3 separate regions of the Homo sapiens genome follow, and regions 2 and 3 are each linked to region 1. The links are contacts of gene promoters, found by promoter capture Hi-C in blood cells and fetal thymus (Javierre and others, 2016). All regions are on one chromosome and are shown on one strand. Each heading gives the region's core, a stretch centred on a gene start or on the middle of the fragment in contact. The rest is flanking DNA. Distances are from core to core; before and after follow the strand shown.

The links. Contacts are between HindIII fragments. The CHiCAGO score rates a contact against its expected background, and 5 or more counts as called.
Region 2: the fragment with the promoter of DHX9 here is called in contact with the fragment with the promoter of BPNT1 in region 1 in 1 of 17 cell types (naive CD8 T cells); the score reaches 5.5 in naive CD8 T cells.
Region 3: a fragment that was not itself captured here is called in contact with the fragment with the promoter of BPNT1 in region 1 in 1 of 17 cell types (total CD8 T cells); the score reaches 5.1 in total CD8 T cells.

The regions. Positions count from the first base shown.
Region 1 is chr1:220,087,983-220,091,552 of GRCh38, forward strand. BPNT1 (3'(2'), 5'-bisphosphate nucleotidase 1) reads right to left here and starts at 1,806. Exons shown (of 9, transcript NM_006085.6): 1 at 1,704-1,806. RefSeq lists an enhancer at 1,917-2,106. The HindIII fragment of the contact is 18,631 bases long and covers 1-3,570 here.
Region 2 is chr1:182,837,390-182,840,959 of GRCh38, forward strand. DHX9 (DExH-box helicase 9) reads left to right here and starts at 1,958. Exons shown (of 28, transcript NM_001357.5): 1 at 1,958-2,067. It overlaps DHX9-AS1 (DHX9 antisense RNA 1), which reads right to left and starts at 2,202. Exons shown (of 2, transcript NR_148933.1): 1 at 1,923-2,202; 2 at 1-545. RefSeq lists an enhancer at 1,583-2,424 and a silencer at 1,848-2,277. The HindIII fragment of the contact is 6,331 bases long and covers 1-3,570 here.
Region 3 is chr1:186,380,661-186,384,230 of GRCh38, forward strand. It overlaps ODR4 (odr-4 GPCR localization factor homolog), which reads left to right. Exons shown (of 14, transcript NM_017847.6): 3 at 2,362-2,496. Among named protein-coding and RNA genes, the nearest start is that of ODR4, 6.6 kb to the left of the region's middle. The HindIII fragment of the contact is 1,244 bases long and covers 1,095-2,338 here.

The sequences.
Region 1 (3,570 bases), core at 556-3,055:
TTCTCCTGCCTCAGCCTCCCGAGTAGCTGGGATTACAGGCAAGCATCTCCACACCTGGCTAATTTTGTATTTTTAGTAGAGACAGGGTTTCTCCATGTTGGTCAGGCTGGTCTCGAACTTCCGACCTCATGGCCTGCCTAAGCCTCCCAAAGTGCTAGGATTACAGGCGTGAGCCACCGCGCCGGGCCATGATTGTTTATTTTTAAGATTGGCATAGAAAAGAAAATTTGGCAGGGCACGGTGGCTCACACCTGTAATCCCAGCACTTTGGGAGGCCAAGGCAGGTGAATCACCTGAAGTTAGGAGTTCAAGACTAGCCTGGCCAACATGGTGAAACCCCATCTCTACTAAAAATACAAAAATTAACCAGGCATAGTAATACAAAAATTACTCAGGAGGCTGAGGCAGGAAAATTGCTTGAACATAGGAGGCAGAGGTTGTGGTGAGCCGAGATCGCGCCACTGCAGTCCAGCCTGGGCGACAGAGACTCCGACTCAAAAAAAAAAAAAAAAAAAAAAATTGTCGCTGAATGCAGTGGCTCACACCCGTAATCCTAGAACTTTTTGGGAGGCCAAGGCTGGTGTATTGCTTGAGCTCAGGAGTTCGAGACCAGCCTGGGCAACATGGCAAAACCTCGTCTCTACAAAAAAATGCAAAAATTAGATGGTGTGGTGGCACATGCCTGTAGTCCCAGCTGCTCGGGAGGCTGAGGTGGGAGAATCACCAGACCCTGGGAGGTCAAGGTTGCAGTGAGACATAATGGCACCACTGTACTCCAGCCTGGGGGACAGAGCTAGAACCTGTCTTAAAAAAAAAAAAAAAAGAAAGAAAGAAAGGCTGGGCGCGGTGGCTCACGCCTGTAATCCCAGCACTTTGGGAGGCCGAGACGGGCAGATCACGAGGTCAGGAGATCGAAACCATCCTGACTAACACGGTGAAACCCCGTCTCTACTAAAAATACAAAAAAAATTAGCCAGGCTTGGTGGTGGGCGCCTGTAGTCCCAGCTACTCGGGAGGCTGAGGCAGGAGAATGGCGTGAACCTGGGAGGTGGAGCTTGCAGTGAGCCGAGATTGCACCACTGCACTCAAGCCTGGGCGACAGAGCGAGACTCCGTCTCGAAAAAAAAAAAAAAAAAAAAAAAAGAAGGAGGAGGAAGGAGGAGGAAGAAGAAGAAGAAAAAAGAAGAAAGAAGAAGAGTTTGTCCTTTGTCCAGTTTGCAAGGGTGTGAGGGAACATGTTCCTGAGCATTGTTGGCAAAGCGGTGAACCCTCTTAGGAGAGTTTTGAGAACCTTAATAAAAGTATAAAGTACGTATCTTTTGAACCAACAATTATATTTACAGAGAAATCCAAATAAATCACGCAAACCTATAAATATGTAGAAATGGCAGTTGGAAGAATATTTGCTGTTTAAAGAAATTTAATTTTAGGTACCAAGCAGTTTCTAAATTTGGGTGCATCAACAAACTCAATGTCTAGGTTTGTCTTGTTTCTACAGTATATGGCTATAAAAACCTTCCGGATCACGAAAATAAAAGCACAGATAAACAATTAAAATATCGACACTCAAGAGTCCAAGTCGGAAGTTAGAATATCTGGAGAAGCAATCTGATTCACATAAACCTTTTTCGTTTTATTTTTTTAACATAAATCCTATCTACCTGGCTCTTGCCCTGACCGGCCGGAGAGAAACGGTGACAAACCTGGAACAACGTTGGACCAAAGACACTTCAGGAGGAGCAAAAGCGCGTTATCGTAGACCCAGGTCCCTCGTTGTGTCCAGTACCGAGCTTTGGCACTGTCAATAAGTCTTTTGAGAAGGATGGCATCCCTACCTCAGCTACTGAGCATGCGGGAAACTGCGCGCAAGCGCACAACAGCGATTTCACACTGCCTCTTTAGACTCCTGATCCGCGGGAAAATTCCACTTGTCCGTGTTTTCTCCAAGCTCTCCGTAGGTGCAAGTCACCTGTTGCATTAAATAAAAGCGAAAGATGTGTCAACTTTCAAAGATTGGCTAAAAAAAGAAAAAGAAGAAGGAAAGAACACATTAAGCCAGCAACAGTGTGTTGAAACAAAAAAAAGATTGGTTTTGGTTTCAGCTGTCTTCCAGCCCACTTCGTAGAGTTCACTGTTTTAAAATGTTCTTTGTATTAGTGATACCACTCTGCGGCTATTTAACTTCGAACCCCTAGCGGTCCGTGGACAGGCTTCAGCAGGTCCACCACACACACCTCCACCTCCCACTCCCCACGCAATAACACAGCAACTTTATGCAGAATTGTGTCAAAGATGCTTGCTTACCTTTTTTTTTTTTTTTTTTTTTTTTTTTTTAAGCGATAGATAGCTTGCTCTGTCGCCCAGAGTCGATTACGGCTCACTGCTGCCTTCCCACTTCTAGGCTCAAGCCATCCTCCCGCCTCAGCCTTCCGTGTAGCTGGGACTACTGGTGGAGGTGCGCGCCACCACACCCAGCTAATTAAAATATTTTTTGTGTACAGATGGGATCTTTTACTGGGGGGCGTGGTTGGGGAAGGGGGCAGTGTCTCATCCTGTCGCCCAGGCTGGAGTGCAGTGGCGCAGTCTAGGTTCACTACAACCTCCTCCTCCTGGGTTCAAGCGATCCTTCCTCCTTAGCCTCCCAAGTAGCTAGGACTACAGGCGCGCCACCACGCCGGGCTAATTTTGTTTGTTTTTTAAGTAGAGACGGGGTTTCATCATATTGGCCAGGCTGGTCTTGAACTCCTGACCCCAGGTGATCTGCTCACCTCGGCCTCCCAAAGTGCTGGGATTACAGGTGTGAGCCACTGCGCCCAGCTTAAAAAGGCTTTTACGTCTTCATTTGATTTTCACAATAACTCTGTGAGTTAAGTAGACCCTTTTTGGGAAGTGGAAAAATATACATAACTTAAATTATATTACTTTAACCATATATATATATATATATATATATATATATATATATATACACACACACACACACACACATATATACATATATATATTTTTTGAGACGGCGTCTTACTCTGTCGCCCAGGCTGGAGTGCAATGGCTTGATCTCGGCTCACTGCAACCTCTGCCTCCCAGGGTTCAAGCTATTCTCCTGCTTCAGCCTCCTGAGTAACTGGGACTACAGGCGCACACCACCCAGCCCAGCTAGTTTTTGCATTTTTTTTTTTTTTAGTAAAGACGGGGTTTCACCATGTTGGCCAGGCTGGTCTCGAACTCCTGACCTCATGATCCGCCCGCCTCGGCCTCCCAAAGTGCTGAGATTACAGGCATGAGCCACTGCACCTGGCCATACTTTGGTTTTTATAATTAAATTGTATAATTACATGACAAGTACAAATGGCTTAAATAAAGACAAACATAATGCAAGGTAAGCTCAACAAGTGAGAATAGAAATCTGCAGTCATCCTAAAGAGTAGCCATCTCCCAAGTGTTCATTGTATCCTCTCATAGGTTTTACGAGAAAACGGCATAGTTGAATTCAGCAAGTTATGTAGAGGTTGGTTAGGAGAGTTTCTATGTAAATATATCTTTGTGCTCCTGGAAGACTATAGCTGTGAT
Region 2 (3,570 bases), core at 708-3,207, about 37 Mb before region 1:
TTTTAGTACAGACAGGGTTTTGCCATGTTGGCCAGGCTGGTCTCAAATTCCTGACCTCAGGTGATCCACCTGCCTTGGCCTCCCAAAGTGCTGGGATTACAGGCATGAACCACCACACCTGGTCTTGTTGAGGATTCTTGCATCTATGTTCATCAGGGATACTGGCCTATAGATTTTTTTTCTTGTGTCCATATCTAGTTTTGGTATCAGGGTAATGCTGCCCTCACAGGATGAGTTTGAGAACTGGTATGAGTTCTTCTTTAACTGTTCAGTAGAATTCAGCAGTGAAGCCATCAGGGCCTGGACTTTTCTTTGATGGGAGACTCTATATTACTGATTTAATCTCATTACTCATAGTTGGTCTTTTCAGGTTTTCTATTTCTTCTTGGTCCAATTTTGGTAAGTTGTATCTGTTCAGGAATTTATCCATTTCCATTTGGTTTCCAATTTGTTGGCATATAGTTGTTCATAATAGTCTCTAATGATCCTTTGTATTTCTGTGGTATCGGTTTAATGTCTTCTAGGCCCCTGCTGCTTTCAACACCCTGAAGGGTACAAAAAAAAAAAAATTAAGGTCTTTCCTTCAATGATTTTATTCTTAATTAAGGAGAACAATCACATGAAGAAAATAATAAGTAAATGATAAACTATGTTGTTCTGATTTTAAGAATGACAGTTTTAAAGGGAGTGATCACTATCAGCTAGAAGGATTAAGAAAAACATAAGGAAAGAGGTGAAAAATAAAGATCCATAGATATAATGAGCCCAGATAATTGATTAGTCTGGATTCCCTGGAACAATCCCAGCTGGAAATGTTTTGTATCATTACCTTCATGGGACGCACTGGAGTTTCAAAATTTAACAGTGACTAGTATAATAATTAAGGACACAATTATTCCAAAGACTTGGAACACAAAATTACTCCAAAGACTTGGAACACAAAAGGTTATCCAATTTAAACAAAAGCAACCTTGCAGATTTTATTCCTACCTTAAAGTAGTTTGCTGAGCACTTACAGTAATGTTCCAGGCACGGCAAGGAGCGACCTGCGTTAGCCAGGCAGAATGCCCGCCTTCACTGAGCTTATTTCTTTCATGGTTTTTTTTTTTTTTTTTGAGACGGAGTCTCGCTCTCTCGCCCAGAAAATGGCGTGATCTCGGCCCACTGCAACCTCCGCCTCCGCCCCCGACCCCGGGGTTCAAGCGATTCTCCTGCCTCAGCCTCCCGAGTAGCTGGGATTGCAGGAGCCCGCCCAGCCACCCAAGCAGCTGGGATTGCAGGCGCCCGCCCCCATGCCCGGCTAATTTTTGTATTTTTTTTTTTTTTTTTAGTAGAAACGGGGTTTCACCACGCTGGCCAGGCTGGTCTCAAACTCCTGACCCCAAGTGATTCGCCCACCTCGGCCTCCCAAAGTGCTGGGATTACAGTCACCACGCCCGGCCAGTTTATTTCTTTCAAGAGACACTGGCGTTCAGACTATCTGAATCAATCCGGTAACTACGCCCACTGAACACCTACTACATGCCAGGTATTGAACTAAGCCGCCCTTCATATGCCATCTCATGTAATTATCTCAACAACCCTACCAAGTTAGCAGCAAGGTTTCCAGTTCTGCCTTCGAAGGGAACCTCCTCTCACCGGAGATCCCTATGACAGACCCTGCGAAATATTTTGCTGCATCAGAATGCTACAGGCCGTCAACTCCCTAACATGCGCAAAAGCGGGCAGCCGATTATCCAGGGTAGTGGATTATCCAGGAGAGTGGATTATCCAGAGTAGCAGGTCTGGCGCGATGCCCGCCCGGCTCAGCCCATCTCCCTAGCAACGAAACCCTTCCGCGCCGCGAGGTTGCTGAGCCCCGCCCCCTCCATTGGCGCGCCCTCGCCATCCCCCGCCCTGGCACGCGCTCTGCGCATGCGTACGCTCGCTGGCCCCGCCCCCTAGCGCCGCGGTCGGAGCCATTTCGCCGATTCCTCCATGCGAGTTGCTGTGCGTTTCTCTGTTGTCTCGGTAGAAGGCCAGAGTCACACACGGTCCTAAGAGCTGGGCACCAGGAAGCGAAGGCTGGTAAGGGAGAGACGTTCCGGCTACCATGCGGGGCGGCGGGGTCGCGGGCGGGCGCCGTGGACCATGGCTCCGCAGCCGGCTTTGTTGCGAAGCGCGGGCGGCGGCGGCGGCTGGGGGTGGGGGAAGGGACGAGCCGCCCGCGGGTCCCCGGATTGCGGGTTGCGTGCGCGCCTCGCCGCGATGCGCTTGCGCCGTCCGGGCAGCCTGTGGCCCCCTCCCCTCTCCTCCGCCCAGCGTTTCCCGCTGCTGCCTCTAGCAGGCAAAGCGCGCTTCCTCCTCTGGCCTGCGTACGCCGGGGCACCGCGGCGGCTGAGGGAAGGGGGTGCTTCGCCTGTGGTGGTTGCCGCCGGGGCGCCACTGGCCTAGGGCTCTTCATTCATTCAAGCCACGAATAACTGGCGCCGTCGTGCAGGCCTTGTGGGTAGAGGAAAAAAAATTGAAGAATGTAAAGGGAGAGCGCCTTTGGCTAGTATAGCGAGGTAAGGCGTCTCGAAGGAGGGAGGCTTTGAGCTGATAACCTCGGCCAACGCGAAGGAAAAGCAGAGCCTGCAGAAGCGGAAGGGATTAGTTATCGCTTAAGGGCAGAAACTGGGCGGGAGCTGAAAGCAGGCCATGTGACTGGAGTGTGGCGAGAAGGCCTTCAAAGGAGAATGGGTTTTAGGGTGGCAAGAGTGGAAACAAAAACCGTGTAGGACAATATTTCACTAGCCCGGGTGTGCAGTAGTGGTGGCAGGAGAGATGGGGAGAAACGAATGGATAGGGGACGTATTTTGAAGCAGAAATGCGTAGTGGTGGAAGGTAGTAGATCTGGAGTCAGGCTACGTTTTCTGGAATTCTTGCGCCTTTTTTTTTTTTTTTTTTTTTGCAAGAGTCTCGCTCTGTCGCCAGACTGGAGTGCAGTGGCGCGATGGCGGCTCACAGCAACGTCGGTCTCCCGGGTTCAAGTGATTCTCCTGCCTCAGCCTCCGGAGTAGCTGGGACTACAGGCGCGCGCCACCACGCCCAGCTAATTTTTGTATTTTTAGTAGAGACGGGGTTTCATCATGTTGGCCAGGATGGTCTCGATCTCTCGACCTCGTGATCCGCCTGCCTTGGCCTACCAAAGTGCTGGGATTACAGGCGTGAGCCTCCGCGCCCGCCCGAATTCTTGCTCTTATAATTAGGAGCTCTGTCTTCCTGAAGCAAGATATTCTTTGTCTCAGTTTCCCCTTCTCTAAAGGGATAGTGATCTTACCTGTACAAGGTTACTAAGGATTAAGTAAAATAGTTCCATTTAGATGATCTATTATGGATATTGTTTGACACACATTAAGGGTTCTACAAGGGATAGCTATGGAGAATCTTAAGGGAGTGGACGACTCTCAACTTGTGCCAGGAGTAACTTGGTGGATGTCGTACCGTTTATGGAAACCGAAATGTAGGGGTAGGGTGTTGGAACAGATTTGAGGGGAAATTTAAAATTCTGTTTTGACTGAGATGCCAAGTTAGCATGCAAATGGGTGA
Region 3 (3,570 bases), core at 467-2,966, about 34 Mb before region 1:
ATTTTGAGGCCTACTAGCCAATAAAGCTCTTATTGGGACAATTTTCTTTCTAGATATCTTAGCCTGATGCCTTAGAATCTTCAAATTACATAATTAACTTTCCTTATTCTGATTCTACCCATATTCCCAAGCTACTTTCTTTTATAATTTGATGCCCCATGTTATCTACTTATAAAGAATACACTGTCCAGAGGACTCAAGTGTTCAGATGCCTTCATGACATTTTAGTTTTCTACATCATTCTGAATAAACTTAATCAATGTCAGTCTAGCCATGAAAGACAGGCTCATTTTCAGAATTTTTACAAATCAGATTTCTTAATTTGCAAGACAGAGGGCAGATCTACATGGTTCAACCAGGTAGCACCACTCTGTGAGGCCTCTCATTAGACAGCCAGACTGCCTCTCTTGAGAACAGTGTGAATTTCTTTTTAATTCAGTTGTAATGTGGGGCTCTTTTTGTTAGGAGTTTTCTATTTAAGTTTTTTTCTTTCTCTTTGTTTAAAACATTTAAGAGAAGAAGAGTCTTAGAGAAAGATGTGATCAGTAGAGATAAAAAGTCAGGGAGAAAGACCCTCTTCTAAATTTGTCTTAACTGGATAAAGGTTGTTTCTAAAGCTCAGGCAAACTGCCATCTTACAAATGAGTGTCTCATAATTTAAGGCCTTCCTTCTTTTTTTTTTTTTTGAGACGGAGTCTCGCTGTCGCCCAGGCTGGAGTGCAGTGGCGCAATCTCGGCTCACTGCAGGCTCCGCCCCCTGGGGTTCACGCCATTCTCCTGCCTCAGCCTCCCGAGTAGCTGGGACTACAGGCGCCCGCCACCTCGCCCGGCTAATTTTTTGTATTTTTAGTAGAGACGGGGTTTCACCGTGTTAGCCAGGATGGTCTCGATCTCCTGATCTCGTGATCCGCCTGCCTCGGCCTCCCAAAGTGCTGGGATTACAGGCGTGAGCCACCGCGCCCGGCCTAAGGCCTTCCTTCTATCTCTTTTTATGCTGTAGTATGTATTGCTCACGGACAGAGCAATTCATTCCTTTCAGTATTCTACGTGCTTTTTCTTCCAGAGTTCATTACTTTTTCCTCTCCTTCCTCTTAAGCTTGCCTGTTTCCTGGTCTCTGTCAGTTTCTTTTTCTTTTCAAAGTTATACATTTTATGAAGAAAAGAGGAGCCTTCTTAACTGAGACCTACTTTCTTTTCCTGTGTTTATTTGAATGTAACTTCCTGAAAATAACCTGTAGGAATAGTTACTCTTATTTTCTATCCCAAGATGATACTAATGATCAGAGTTTCAGGTCATGTGTGGGGAAGATACAATGCTAACTTGCATTAGCAGTGTTATTTTCACTCTTTTTTTATAGGAAACTTTCACTGTAGTGAAACTGAGCTATTGAATGTTCCCCTACATTTATTTTTAGATCTCCCAACTTTGGTTACTACTTAACTGATATTACAGCTGAAGAACAGATTGGGTGTGGTGGCTCATGCCTGTAATCCCAATGCTTTGGGAGGCCGAGGTGGGAGGATTGCTTGAAGGTCAGAGTTTGACCTAGCCTGGGCAACATAGCAAGACTCTGTCTCTACAAAAAAGTAAAAAAAAAAAAAAAAAAAAGCCAGGCATTATGGCTGATTGTTTGAGCCTGTAGTCCTAGCTACTTGGGAGACTACTTGGGGGGAGGATTGCTTGAGCCCAGGAGTGCAAGGTTGCAGTGAGCTATGATCACACCACTGCACTCCAGCCTGGGCATTAGAGCAAGACCCTGTCTCTAAATAAATAAATAAATACACACACACACAAAGAACAAAAAACAAAACAAAACAAAAAACTTGAGGAACATAGAATCTGTATCACTTTAAATTGTGTCCCAAATCCCCTTTGTTATTCTGTGGAAATGTATGTGGAAGTTCCCTACTGTCATCATTTCAATTAAAATAAGATACAAAAGGTCACTTGTTGTTTCATTTTACTAATATTTTCCGATCTGTTCATTTATAACTTATAAAACAAATATAACTAGAAAACTGAATAAGCATATTACTTTTTAGTTAATGTAATTCATTCACTCATCCAGTAAACCATTTTTAGGGACCACTCCATGATTTACATTTGAGTTGTCCAAATAAATAAGAAGCTGATATTAAATACATTAAAAGATAAACAACATGTGAGGGAAAGATTGTAAGGCCATCCTTGAAAATTAGCTTCCCTTTAGCTTCCATTATAATGTGGGTATTAATGATTTAACCTGTTACAAATATTACTCAGTTTTTGCATGTCATAAAAGCTAAGGAATTTAGGTATCACTCTAATTAGATTGAGGAATCAGATATCACTCTAACAAGCTTTTTAATTTGTTGTTGAAGTGTTCGTCACAAAAGGATTATGTGATTCTTGCCACTAGAACGCCACCCAAAGAGGAGCAAAGTGAGAACCTCAAACATCCCAAAGCTAAGTTGGATAACTTGGATGAAGAATGGGCCACAGAACATGCCTGCCAGGTTATCTTATTTTTTTGTTTATATGTTTAAGTTTTATTTCAAAAAAGAGCTAGAATCAAGAAGATTTAGTGAATGAGTAGAGAGAAGAGACATAGGGAGAAAGTAGCTAAAGATGACTGAGATTTTTAGTCTGGGTGTCTAGGAGGATACTGTTGGCATTACACGAGGAAGAAACAGATTTGGGATGGGTGAGTGGGAATAATGACTAAATTAATTCACTTACAAGTATTTATTGAATGAATTATATATCATCAAATAAATAATGTTAGAATAAGGTAAAAATAGAATTATTTCCTTTTCTGGGGTTGGGGGTGAGGGGAGGGAACTTAGAGGACAGGTCAATAGGTGCAGCAAGCCACCATGGCACACGTAAACCTATGTGACAGACTTGCACATTCTGCGTTTTTGTTTGTTTGTTTTAAGAAAAAGAATTTTCTTTAATAAATAAAAGATTTATTTCCTTTTCCAATCAACTTTAAATCTTTAAATCTTTTAAACTCAAACGTGTTTCTGTGTATGTAGATATATATATATATATATATGGACATATATTTGTGTCTGTGTATGTGTTTGATTATGGAGCAGTGTGTAGTTATATTTAAAAAAAAAATAAAATCTTGCCTGTAATCCCAGCACTTTGGGAGGCCAAGGTGGGTGGATCACCTGAGGTCAGGAGTTCAAGACCAGCCTGGCCAACATGGTGAAACCCCGTCTCTAGTAAAAATATGAAAAACTAGCCAGGTGTGGTGGCAGGTGCCTGTAATCCCAGCTACTTGGGAGGCTGAGGCAGGAGAATTGCTTGAACCTGGGAGGCGGAGGTTGCAATGAGCCAAGATCACACCATTGCACTCCAGACTGGGCGACAAAGCGAGACTCTGTCTCAACAAAACAAAACGAAGAAATCCAGTATTTAATTATTATTGTTTTAGTCTGTTTGGGTGGCTATTAAGGAATACCTAAGACTGAGTAATTTATAAAGAAAAAAAGGCCTGTTTGGCTCATGATTCTGCTGGCTGCAAGATTGAGCATCTGGTCAAAGCCTCAGGCTGCTTCTGTTCATGTCAGAAGGCAGAT